Regions from separate parts of the Homo sapiens genome. Here all the other regions are linked to region 1. The links are contacts of gene promoters, found by promoter capture Hi-C in blood cells and fetal thymus (Javierre and others, 2016). All regions are on one chromosome and are shown on one strand. The core of a region is centred on a gene start or on the middle of the fragment in contact, and the rest is flanking DNA. Distances in the headings are between cores, read along the strand shown. Region 1 holds the start of SGPL1 (sphingosine-1-phosphate lyase 1). Region 2 overlaps EIF4EBP2 (eukaryotic translation initiation factor 4E binding protein 2). Region 3 has its middle 18 kb from the start of NODAL. Region 4 overlaps PALD1 (phosphatase domain containing paladin 1).

What was found. The method cuts DNA at HindIII sites, captures the fragments that hold promoters and counts their contacts. A CHiCAGO score of 5 or more calls a contact.
Region 2: a fragment that was not itself captured here is called in contact with the fragment with the promoter of SGPL1 in region 1 in 1 of 17 cell types (M2 macrophages); the score reaches 5.1 in M2 macrophages.
Region 3: a fragment that was not itself captured here is called in contact with the fragment with the promoter of SGPL1 in region 1 in 2 of 17 cell types (naive CD4 T cells and naive B cells); the score reaches 7.3 in naive CD4 T cells.
Region 4: a fragment that was not itself captured here is called in contact with the fragment with the promoter of SGPL1 in region 1 in 1 of 17 cell types (naive CD8 T cells); the score reaches 5.5 in naive CD8 T cells.

What each region holds. Positions count from the first base shown.
Region 1 is chr10:70,814,332-70,817,497 of GRCh38, reverse strand. It overlaps SGPL1 (sphingosine-1-phosphate lyase 1), which reads right to left and starts at 1,550. Exons shown (of 15, transcript NM_003901.4): 1 at 1,372-1,550; 2 at 618-687. The coding sequence starts at 644. RefSeq lists silencers at 1,135-1,244, 1,325-1,414, 1,435-1,754. The HindIII fragment of the contact is 12,143 bases long and covers 1-3,166 here.
Region 2 is chr10:70,426,654-70,429,819 of GRCh38, reverse strand. EIF4EBP2 (eukaryotic translation initiation factor 4E binding protein 2) reads right to left here. Exons shown (of 3, transcript NM_004096.5): 3 at 1,202-3,166. Among named protein-coding and RNA genes, the nearest start is that of NODAL, 13 kb to the left of the region's middle. The HindIII fragment of the contact is 1,539 bases long and covers 684-2,222 here.
Region 3 is chr10:70,457,810-70,460,975 of GRCh38, reverse strand. It overlaps a transcript of PALD1 not described here. Among named protein-coding and RNA genes, the nearest start is that of NODAL, 18 kb to the right of the region's middle. The HindIII fragment of the contact is 792 bases long and covers 855-1,646 here.
Region 4 is chr10:70,540,539-70,543,704 of GRCh38, reverse strand. PALD1 (phosphatase domain containing paladin 1) reads right to left here. Exons shown (of 20, transcript NM_014431.3): 16 at 2,463-2,603; 17 at 2,171-2,242. Among named protein-coding and RNA genes, the nearest start is that of PRF1, 61 kb to the left of the region's middle. RefSeq lists an enhancer at 1,320-1,820. The HindIII fragment of the contact is 2,492 bases long and covers 238-2,729 here.

The sequences.
Region 1 (3,166 bases), core at 301-2,800:
CTGTAAATAGCCACTGCACTCCGGTCTGAGGAACATAGCAAGACCTTGTCTCATTTAAAAAAAATAATAATAATTTTGAAAAAGATTCTTCAATAATTTAAGTTCTACATATACTGTATTGATGTATTTAATTCAGCTATTTATTCATCCTGATCATTCATCCAAAATAAAAGGTGGTTGGCCAGGCGCGGTGGCTCACGCCTGGAATCCCAGCACTTCGGGAGGCCAAGGCGGGTGGATCACCACAGGTCAGGAGTTCAAGGCCAGCCTGGCCAACATGGAGAACCCCGTCTCTACTAAAAATACAAAAATTAGCCGGGCGTGGTGGCGTGCGCCTGTAATCCCAGCTACTCAGGAGGCTGAGGCAGGAGAATCGCTTGAACCCAGGAGGCAGAGGTGGCGGTGAGCCGAGATCATGCCACTGCACCCCAGTCTGGGCAACAGAGTGAGACTCCGTCTCCAAAAAAACAAAACAAAACAAAACAAAATAAAAGGTGGCAAAACGCTCAGCTACCAAAAGCAAGCATCAGAGGTGAAATCTACACACTGGGATCCTTTGGACTAAAAAAACGGAGACAAATGCCTTGGAACCAGGAGGATGTCTGCAAAAGGCTCACCAACATCAGAAGGTCTGTGCTAGGCATCTTCCTCTTCCAGCCTCCTCTCCGCGCTCCCCTTTTTCAGACTCTGTAAAAGGGAACCAGGTTTGTTTACTTCTAGAGCTTTAAACTGTCTCGCCAGCCCGCCTAGATTCGCCAGAGCAGCCAAGTTATGGTTCTCTCCCTCCTTTGAAGGCTCAGATTTCATTCCCAGATATCACAGTCCACCCCTAGCACCCCAGACCAGCGAATCAAAATCCTGCTGCAACTAGGTTTCCCTCCCACAGCTGATGAAACTAATCCAGACCCAGACTCCCACAAAGCATTCCACCCAGGTGGAAACTAGGGGAAACGCCCCGTCTGCGCGCGATCGGGGTGGGGAGCCCAGCCCAGGCCACCTAACCCGGGCTGAAGGTGCCGAGGCTACCAGGGTCCTGCCTCCTCCGCACTCCCTTCAGAATCAGCACGGCCTCGCTCTCGTTGTCACCCCTCCCGTCGGAGGACCAGCAAATCCTGGCCGCCCATGCCTACCCCGCGGCAGGCGTGGGCTCCAGACCCGCCCCACCGCGGCCCCGCGCCCGCCCGCCGTCCACTTGCTTGGACCTCAGCGGCTGGTGCCCACGCCTTCAGCCCGCCCCCGCCCCCGCCCCGGCCGCAGCCGCCCCGCCGCCTCTGCCCGCCCTCGGCCCACCCGGCCCCTGTCCTCTCCTCACCCCGCGGCGCCTCCGTCCCGACCCTCACCGCCCCCCGGAGCCCGCGGCGGCCCCTCCACCTCCTCACGCCGGAACCAGCTTCCAGTCTCCTTCCCTCGAGCACCCGGCCGGCTCCACCTCCTGCGTCTCCCTCAGCACGCGACGGACTCGCAGGCCGCGAGACCCAGGCTCCCCTGTTGCCGCCGCCGCCGCCGAGATTGGAGGCCCGGCAGCCGCCGGCCTCGCCCCTCCCGGAAATGGCTCCGGGGGCACCGGCCCGGCTCCCGGACCCTGGCGTGCGCGGCCCCGCTGCTACCAGCCGCGCGCACGCCCAGACCCGGGCCCCACGGCCTGTGCGCGCCGCCTACCGGCCAGGCAGCGGGCTGCACCCAGACCCTCCAGTGAATGTCTCAACCAGGCCGTCCTGGGGCGGCTGTGGTATCCCGACGGTCACCAACTTCTCTTCCAAACTGCCTTGGACAAAAAACTTTCTTGTCACATTTGGTCACTTGGAGCCTCCTGAGAGAGTAGGTCTGCAGGGCATTGTACAAACTAATCCAAAACAGCCACAGAGTTGGGTCTCTTTCCTGGGCCAGGGACTTCATTTTTCCATCGAGGTCAGTGGTGCCTGAAGAAAAGCAACAAGGAAACTTATTTAATGGAAATATCATCCTCATCCTCCCCTCCACCACTGCCCCCCCCCACCCCAAAAATAAAATGGAGAGCAGAGGCTACTCTGCCATCACTACTTTCATGAGCAGTGCTGGGAATCACCTTATACACAAGTGCAAGGGCCCACTGGGATCACAAAGGTCGCCTTCATTTCCAGATGAAAAAACTAAGTCTCAGCTGGGTGTAGTGGCTTACATCGGTAATCCCGGCACTTGGGGATGCTGAGGCGGGAGGGTTGTCTGAGCCCAGGAGCTCTAGATCAGCCTGAGCAACATAGTGAGACCCCCAACTCCAAAAAGAAAAAGAAAAAACTAAGTCTCACATAGGTTTCCCATGACTTGTCCAGGTTGTCATAACATTGCTTTAGTGGTAGCAGAAGGCAGTGCAGTTACATGGAACCAACTGGTCAGTGACCTGCATTCAAGATTTTTTTTCAATAGATTTTAAAATGACACCTAGATAGACTCTTGAAATCTCTCAAACAAAAATGACACTAATGAGGGTACCCAATTCCATCCCCTTGGAAAATGTTGCCATGACACTAAAATTAGGGCATCATCACTACCGTCATTATCCACATGTAGTGCTTTCAGGATGAAATGTACTATCACAGCTGCCCTCCTCTGCATACCCCATCGGCACTTCCCACTTCCCCAGCCATAATGGTTAAGGCCCTGAAAGACTATGAACAGGTTATCTTTAGGCCTCCTCACCCCCATTCCGTCAGAACTCCCAGACATTTCTACCATCCAGAGCCCCTGACTCAGGCATGAACACCCCCATACCCTTAGCCCCCTCACTACTATTCCCCAGCAGACATGCATTCTCAGTGTTTGAGGGTCAGAAAATGTTCTGGGGCCTCCTGCCAATGCCTACTCATCAAGAGTTGCTTTAGGGTTTCAGGTATGCCTTCCCATTCTCCATCTCCTACCCTTCTGCTTTAATTCTTCATCAGATCCCCCAGGAACTGCACACCTCCTCTCCATCTCCTTGTTAGTTACCACCCCCACATCCTTTAATCTAGAATCTGTGCACCCAGATGACTAGAGGGCAGGGTCACGTCTGATTCCTCCCTACACCCTAACACACAGTATGCAGTCTGCTCATTCTTCCCAGATGCTCAAACCAATGCAATCATATCGACTGATCCTTGCTTTGCCAAGAACTATGCTAGGCACCTTTACATACAAGCCTTATTTATGG
Region 2 (3,166 bases), core at 204-2,703, 390 kb after region 1:
GGTGAAACCCCGTCTCTACTAAAAATATAAAAATTAGCCAGGCATGGTAGCACGTGCCTGTAATCCCAGCTACTCAGGAGGCTGAGGCAGGAGAATCACTTGAACCCAGGAAGCGGGGGTTACAGTGAGCCGAGGTCGCACCACTGCACTCCAGCCTGGGCAACAGAGCAAGATTCAGTCTCAAAAAAAAAAAAGTCTTCATTAGCAGTAAGATCCTTACCTATCCTAATTGCCTTTAGGGCAGAGTAAAGGATGTAGGAAAGCGCTTTTAAGGTTTTGGTCCCATCTTCCCTTAAAGAGATCCTTTAGTCCTTCTATAGGTTCCATGAGTAGGTGGTAGCTGCAGTGCTCAAACCTGTTCCATTCCTAAACTTACACACTTGGAGGGAAGAGGAGAGGGGGCTGAATAATCTCTGGGTGTCCATGTCAACCGGGCTGTGCTTGAGTCCCTTAAATACTGTTTCCTGAGCTGAGTATACTAGGCACTGGGCTCTTTATGACATCAACTGGGCCTGACAACCACCTAGAAAAGTTGTTTCTTAACCTTATTTTAGAGAAAACTGAGGCTTGTAGAATAAGAATTCTGCTGGGTAATTTGGCTACTAAGCAGCACAGCTGGAACTGAAGCTGCCTGACTCCAAAGCCTGTGCCCTAAACCCCTAGACAGTTCCGATGGGAAAGCTTCCTCCAGTCCAGTTTTATTCTGTGGACCTCTGTGCACGTGAAAGAATTCTCATTCTCAGGACTAATACATGAAACCCGCTGGATTAGTTAACAGCAGGGAATCTGACGCTCATGCAGCACAGCTTGGTTTGAGGTAACAGGCATGATGGGCATCTAACCAGTGCTCCCAGGGGCACAGGCAGCCCCTCTTCTGAGAAAGGAAAAGTTGTTTGGGCTTCCTCAGGGCTGGCACTTAAGAGAAGGACATGCTTGGGTGCCGTCAGCCCAGCATATACATGTTCACCTGCAAGCTCCTGAGCACAGGACCAGGGTCATGCTCCCTGAGAGTCCCACCATCTCCTTTGCATACACAGGTCCACATTGACAAAGTGCATGCTCCGCAAGTGTGGAGAACTGACAGATAAAGAGCCAACTGCCTCTTACCTCTGCCCATCTCCCCCACCAGCTGAAACTCCTGAAATGTGAAATAACCTTAGCAGGATTTCACCAGAAATTTTTAAAAAATTAAAACACCAAGTTGATACTCAAGATCTTTACTGATTTAACTATAACAGCAACCATTGATGAGAATTTAATTTTTTCCTTAATTTCCAAACATCTGCTGGTTTGGAAGAATAGTTAAAATACAAAAACAACTGATCATGGAATCACACAGGACTGCCTCAAGGACTGCGTGGTACCCTCTGCTATCCATCCACACACAGTGAAATGGATGGGAGGGATGAGGGAACAACACATCATGGGAGACAAAGGGAAGACCAAGGAAAGTGCTGGCAGTCTCCGCTTTTCCATTCAGAATGGATGGAACTGGGCCGTTAGTGGCACTAAGACAGGGCAGGGCTATTTTTTTTTTTAAATAAAATATTTTAAAGATGCATAAAATGGACACCTTAGCACGTGAGTGTCCTCTGGGCTCTTCAAGACACCTTCTTTAAGGTTTACCCCTGGAGTAGCAGAGGGTCTCCTCACCCAGGTGGAAAGAGATGGGCTCCATCTGCAGATGAAGGAAAGGCACTGGCGCACAGCACTCAGCAATGTAGATACAGGCACCAGGTAGGAGCAGGATGGCTTACCCAGCAACCTGCCTCTTAGCTCCCTGCTAGTGTTCTTCCCTCCTCCCCAGTTTCCAGTTAAAAGTACCCTTGGCCTGGGCTTTAAAAAAAAAAAAAAAAAAAAGATTAAGCTGGAGAGAAAGGGGATACACTTGGGCAAGAATGGATATTTTGTGCTAGATTCATGGAATTTTCTAAGTGTCCAGGAGTTTTGGTTTTAAGCACCGGCAAGAGCTCCCTTTGGAAATTTCAGTGTGGCCAAATGATTATCAAGCATTGCAGCATCTCTGCCAGCCTCCCACCCTTAGAAAGGTGGCAGAGTGAGAGTTTAAATACCCTTGGAAATGTGTTTCATCTCAGTAATATTTCCACTGGGTATCCATGACATACAGTATGGTCTGCCAGGGCTGCAGGCAGAGAGCCATAAGCAAAGAGAATCCACAGACCCGCTGAACAGGGACTCAAGCCTTCTCCTAAATCTAAGCTTTGCCAAAAGGTTATCAACTTCCAGGACCAGCCTAGAGAAATAAATTTAAATTCCAGAGAGTAGGCTAGGTGATGTAAGTGACTGACTGAAAAAACAAGTATCAATAACTCTTAAAGTTTTCAGTTAGAAATTTCTGTAAGTTAGCCTCAAGAAACTCCACTACTAAACTGGAAAACCATGACTAGGAACAGGAAGCGGCCCTGGGGTAGAAGCATTCTAAAGAATTGTGACCCAACTGCATCAATATCTGATTTCATCTTTTATTAAAAGCTGAGAGTTAAAGAACTGTAGGGATAACTAAGTCCACCTCAAAGTCCAGACAGAAACTGCCCTCCCAAAGAAACAATGTTTCTTTAAAACAAATACCACACCTTCCCAGATATTATGGGTAGGTAAGTGACTAGGTTTTGCAGATTAATCTATAGCTGCCCATGTGCATGTAGTCCAGAAAACATGCCAAGAAGGAAGAGCTCTGAACCAGACACAGAAAGGCAGTGTGGCTTCCTCGCTCAAGGGGAATGCAAAGGGCTAAGAGCCCTGGCTTCAAGCAGCTGTTATCCTAGATGAGGAAAATGCAAACAGATTCAATCTCTGGGATATTGCTGCCAACATGCTAAGCCCTTCACCAGTTGCCTTGATTCGAAGCAGTTCCTCTATGTATACTGGCTAAATGATGGACTCCGGCAGTGAAACCCACATACTCAGCAGGCTGCATTCTAATGAGAATGAAGGAATTTAACTAATGGTGTTTGAGCTGGAAAGGTAAGGTCTGAGAGTCCCAGTGAGCTGGAAACCCAAAAAAAGAGAAGACCAATCCACCTCAAAATAAGAAAGAAAAACAAAATTCATTTAAAGGTACTCTAAAGATGAGTTCTTTACTTCTGGAAGAAGAATCCTTTTCTTATAGCTCCCTCAACAGCAATACTTCTTATCCAAGTATACT
Region 3 (3,166 bases), core at 1-2,500, 360 kb after region 1:
TCAAGTGATTCTCCTGCCTCAGCCTCCCAAGTAGCTGGGATTACAGGCGCATGCCACCACGCCCGGCTAATTTTTGTATTTTTAGTAGAGACGGGGTTCTCCACGTTGGCCAGGCTGGTCTTGAACTCTTGACCTCAGGTGATCCGCCCGCCTCGGCCTCCCAAAGTGCTGAGATTACAGGCGTGAGCCACCTGGCCCGGCCTGGAGCTTGTATTTCATCCTACAGGCAATGAGAGGCACTGAAGGGTTTCAGTGAGGGGAGTGATGCCATCCCATCTAGCTCCTGAGAGGAGTGGATTCTGGGGGGCCAGGGTGGAGGCAGGGAGGCCTCCACAGTTGTCCAGGAGAGAGATGATGGTGGCTGGGACCAGGTGGTGACAGAAGAGATGGGGAGGAGCAGGTGGATTCTAGAGAGCCATTTTGGAAGTGGGATCCACATGGCTGGTATGAGGTTGGATGTTGTGGTGTTGAGGGAGGAAGGAATCAGGAATCAGGGGCTTGGCTGCAGACAGAACGCTGGAGAAGGCGCAGAGGAGTTCAGTCTTGATGAATGGAGCCGGAGATGACTGTGAGGGAGCCCACGGGAGACGCACGGTAGGCCGGTGGGTGCAGGGGTCCAGAGTTCTGAGGACTGGTCTGGGGTAGACAAAGGCCGGGCACCATGGGCATTGGTGGCTTTTAAGCCCCAGGATGGGTGAGACCCTCCAGGAGAGGCAAGTAACCGCAGGGGAGAAGAGAAGTCGAAGCACAGCCTTGGAGGGCGGGCTTCGAGGGGAGGGGAGGCCTGGGGCAGGGGGAAGAGGCTCAGAAGACAAAGAGGACTGAGCAGGGGCCCAGACGGCGGAAGGGAAGCTTAGCCGCACGAAAGCTAAGAGGTGGGGAGCATTTCAATCGTGTCAAAGGCTGCTGTGCGGCCAGGCAGGGCTGGAGCCAATTTGGTAACACGGAGTCTCTCCTATACAACCCAAGCCAGGGCAGACGCCATGGTGGGTGGAGGCAGGAGGCACACAATGGAACCGGGTGAAGGGTGACCGTGAAGCGGGGAGTGTAGGCACCACGGACAACTGCTGTGGAGAAGGTGCGGCAGCTGGAGGGGAGAGGGCTGGCTGTGAAGATGAGGGCACAGGGCAGAGTGGCGTTCACCTATGGGGTGGCTGAGGGGGAGTACGTGGGGGAACGGAGGACAGGCAGGGCTCCGAGCTTTCCAGCCTCTGTTCCTTCCACTTTCACCTTGTGTCTGCAGTTACCCCATAATAACCACCCCTAACTCAGATGAGGACAGCTGAGTCCCAGAGAAGATCCCAACGTCACAAGGCGGGGGCTCTGCCTAAGCTGGCTCCGCGCACAGCAGGCTGTTTGGAGTCTGCCAAGACTCATGCAAAGGTCATGTGGGCCCCTTGACCAAATCTGGACGTCCTTCCCTCCATGCCAGGTTGGCACTGCCCAGCCCCAGCAACCCCCCCATCCCCACCCATCCGAGGCAGTGCCACAGAGGACAGCAGACAGACCAGGCACGGTCAGAGAGATCCATTTTGAAGGGGCTTGACCCTCCTACTGTCGCGGGAGGGGGCTTTTAAAGGAAAAGAACACAAAAATACAAATGCAAAAATTAGGTCCGGGCCTTGCAAGGGTCTGAAACTTAAGCTTCAATTAGCCTCAGGGCAGCTCCGCCTCTGACTGCAGTGACCTTGAAGAAGTGACTTCACCTCTCCGAGCCCCGGTTCCTCATCTGAAAAGGGAGCCGTCAGTATAGTGCCAGCGGGAGGGCTAACTGAGGTAACTGTGCAAAATGTTTATCACAAAGCAGCGTCCCAGTGAGCGATGGACAAACGGTGGCAGTGGCTCTTATAAACCGGGCTCCCTGGGGCTTGGAGTGGGGTGGGGTGGGATGGGGGAAGGGTGAAGCAGTGGGTGGGCGGATGGCGGGGGATAAAGGTGGGGGAGCCGCTCTCTCCCTGAGCCCAGGAACAGCAGTAATCCCTTGGTTTAGCAGTGCAGCACCGCGGTAAGGCGGTGATGGTGTGCGGGGCCCATCCTGACTCTCCTGCCCACGCACCAGGCCTCGCCTGGCACCAAATGGGGGCCCCCCGCGTTTGGTGGCGCCCCACAATTTACCAAGCAGGCACATCCCACCCTTCCCACCAGCAGCAACAGAATGAGGCCACTGGACAGAAGCCCAGCGAGGGGACGGGACAGATGGGAGGGGACACATCCCGCTGAGGGCAGAGCCCTGGGTAACCCCCACCCCGCCCGACCACAGGGCCTGGGCAGGAGCTCGCGCCGGAGCGTCTCTGTCTCACTAGGCTCTTGTCCCGGCCCCGGCGGCGGGACCGGCAGTGCGGGGAACAGGGGAGAGGGGCGGGTCCCCCTTGGCGGCGACAACGCCACCCGCCCGGCGGGAACACTCACTGCCGCCTCCAGCCTCGGTCTTCTTGCTCCGCAGCCCGTCTGCTCTTCGGCTGACTCACCCGGGTCGCCCTCCGCGCGCTTTCCCACGAGGGCGGGCGCCTGGGCCTCTGCCTCCAGCCCAGCCGGCCGGCCTGGCGCGCTCACCTCACCGGGCTCCGTAGGTCCTGCCATGCCTGGGGCCTCCGCTGAGCGCCTGGGCTGTGCCAGGCGCCCGGCCAGGCGCGGCGGGGCGGGCGGGACTGGGCACCGCGCCGCACAGACCACTATGCCCCTTCGCTGCAAACAAGATTGCGAAGCTAGAGGCAGGCAGGCAGGCACGCCGACTCCAAGTCCAGTGCTCTTTTCCTCTGCCTCAGCCTCCTCCTGCTGACAGCAATCAAGAAAAGTACCCTTTCCAGCCTCATTTATTAAGCATCTATTACGTACACCGGGCACTGAGTGAAAGGGTCCAGAGGGGGCTTCTGTCCCCTGGAAGCTCACAGTCTAAGAGAAGGTGGATAACAGGGAACACGGTGTAAGGACCCTGAGAGAGGCTGACTGGGCTGGAGAAATCCTCCAGGCTGGCTTCCTGGAGGAGGAAGCCTAAAGAATTAAGCAACTTTTTTTTTTTTAGGCGGAGTCTCCCTCTGTCGCCCACGCTGGAGAGCAGTAGCGAGAACTCGGCTCACTGCAACCTCCGCCTCCCGGGTTCAAGCGATTCTCCTGCCTCAGTCTTCTGAGTAGCTGGGATTACAGGTGTCTGCCACCACATTCGGCT
Region 4 (3,166 bases), core at 234-2,733, 270 kb after region 1:
AACCCTTATACATATGGTCAACTGGCTTTCAACAAGGGTGCCAAGACCCTTCAATGGGGAAAGACAGACTCTTGAACTAACGGTGCTGGAAAAACCAGATATCCACATGCAAAAGAATAAACTTAGATAACCCTCACCTCACACCATATAAAAAAAACTAACTCAAAATGGATCAAAGACCTAAACCTAAGAGTTAAAAACTATAAAAGTCTTAGGATAAAACACAAGGGAGAAGCTTCATGACATTGGAGTTGGCAATGATTTCTTGGATATAGCACCAAGGGCACAGGCAACAAAAGAAAAAACAGACAAACTACATCAAAATTAAAAACTTTTGTGCATCAAATGACACTATCAATGAGTAAAAAGTCAGCCCACAGAATAGAGAACATATTTACATATCACCTCTCTTATAAGTGATTAGTTTCCAGAATATATAAAGAACCAAAACTCAACAACAATCCAATTCAAAAATGGACAAAGGACTTGAACAGACATTTCTCCAAAGAAGATATACAAGTGGCCAATAAACACATAAAAAGATATTGAACATCACTAATCATTAGAGAAATGCAAATCAAAGCCACAATATACCACTTCATACCCAGCAGGATGGCTATTATCCAAAAAAAAAAAAAAAAAACGGCTGGGCACAGTGGCTCCCAGCACTTTGGGAGGCCGAGGCGGGTGGATCATCTGAGGTCAGGAGTTCGAGACCAGCCTGGCCAACACGGTGAACTCCCATCTCTAAAAAAAACAGAAAAAAGAAATCAAGTGTTGGTGAGGATGTGGAAATATCAGAACCTTTGTGTGTTGCTGGTGGGAATGTAAAATGGTGCATATACTGCGGCAAACAGCATGGTGGTTCCTCAAAAAAGTAAACAGAATTACGATAGGATCCAGCAATTCCACTCCTGAGTATATGCCCAAAAGAACTGAAAGCAGGGACTCAGCTACGTGCACTATGCATTTCATAGCAGCATTACTCATGACAGCCAAAAGGTGGAAGCAAATAGTGTCCCTTGATGGAGGAATGGAGAAACAAAATGTGGTCTATCCATACAATGGGATATTATTCAGCCTCTAAAAGGAAAGAAATTCTGACACATATTACAATGTGGGTAAACCTTGAGAACATTATGCTCAGTGAAATAAACTAGTCATAAAACACAAATACTGTACGATTCCACTCATAGAAGATTCCTAGAGTAGTCACATCCATTGAGACAGAAAGTAGAACAGGGGCTGCTGGGAGGGAGGATGGGGAATCATTACTGAATAGGAGAGCAGAGTTCTGTTTTGCAAGATGAAGGAGTTAGATGGGTTGTGGCAACAGTTGCACAACAACGTGAATGTACTTAACACCACTGAACTGTACATTTAAAAATGGTTGAAATGGTACATTTTATGTTATGCATATTTTACCACATAAAGAAAAGGAAAAAGGAAAGAATCAGAGAATCAGCCAGAAGAAGGAAGGGAGAAGGCACCGCATATGCAAAGGCTGCAAGAGCTTAGCAAGTGTGAGGTGCTGCATGGCGGTCAGGGCCTCAGGACTGGGGCGAGGGCAGGGGAGGGGCAAGTGGCGAAGTTAACCAGTAAGACACGAGCCAACTGTGCTGCTGACTGTGGGTCAGCCATGGGCCAACTCCGAGGGACGTTGCCACGACTCTCGGGATGCCTGAGAAGATGGCCTGTGGCATGTGGCAGGTGCACAATACATGGATGACTAAATCTGGAATGTTTGTGGCTGGCCATCCAGTGCCCTAATCTGAAATAGAGGAACAGGCAGGGCAAAGTAGGCTGGGGACCCACACAAGGTCACCAACCACAGCTGGGTTGAAGGTGCTGGGAGGTTGTTATCAACATTACCCAGACAAGACGGTGGCCAGTGACCTCCCCAAGGCACACAGCAGCCCAACAGCAAGGCCGGGCAGGGAGGGGTCCAGCCCACATCTCCATAGCCGGCCGTCTGCCAGGGCCTCAGAGCCAAGCTGTCCCATGCCTTGCTGGGCTCATCTATAAAATGGGAACAGGGAAGCACTGATATGATGAGGTGGCAGACGTGACTGCATTGGGACGTGCTTTGAGGACCCCTAGACCGGCAAGCAGGAGTCCTCCTCCTCCTCCCATCCCAAGGTGCCTCAGGGACCCCGCAGGGCATGCTCACCTGAAATTCACCCTTAGTGAACTTGGCATCAGGCACACTCACGAGCTCCTCCTCACCCACCTCGGGGAAGCCCTGAGGGAAGACAGCTGCTGAGACAGAAGCCCCCTCCCAACGCCAGGAGCCCCTTGCTGGGGAGGACTTGGGGGCTGCCCAAGACTGATGGAAGGGGCTCTGGGACCACACCCGGCTGTCTCTGCCCCTCACACCCTCCTGTGGAGCCAGTGTGCCTGGGACCTGAGTGTCTACCCTCCTCCAGGCAAATCTCTAATCTCACTTGAGAGGCCACACGTACTTGGATGTGCCAGAAGGCCAGGACAGCCACCACCATCGCAGTTGTGGTACGGCCCTGGCCGCTGAGGCAGCTGAACACGAAGCCAGTGCCTGGGTCCTTGGAGAGGGCGGCCCGCAGGGCCTCCAGCAGCTGGTCAAAGTCCTGGACGAGAAAAGCAAGGTCTGGGTCAGCGGGCGTCTCTTGGATGCACAAACCCCAACAGGGTCCCCATCCACATGGCAGCCCCAGCCACTGTCCTCGGGCCAGAAATTGTCAGGCTCCCAAGCTTGCACACACAAACAAAACTCACCGGGGTGCATGAGACCATGTGCGTGTAAACAGCTGCACCTGTGCAGTCGTAATCACCCTCACACCAAGCACCTGGACAGGATGTGTGAGCCAACACAGCATGCACCTGGGGCTCAAGGTACCCACCCTCCATCAGGCAGGACATGCACCTGTATGTCACCCCTGTGTACTGCGCCCCTGGGCTGCACATAGACTGCTGGCCCTGCCACCCACCTGAGCTGGACCCAGCCCTGGTCCCACCATGGACGGGGGCCTGACCTCAGAAGAGCCCTGCAGCACAAGGCCACCAGGAGGCAGCAGACCGCAGGCAGTGAGAGCCGCGAAGAGATGCGCCAGGAGGGGCTCAGGCAGGGTAACAGACCCCATTGCCAGTTACACAGCACACAGCGACCCACCTACAACACACGCACCACGCA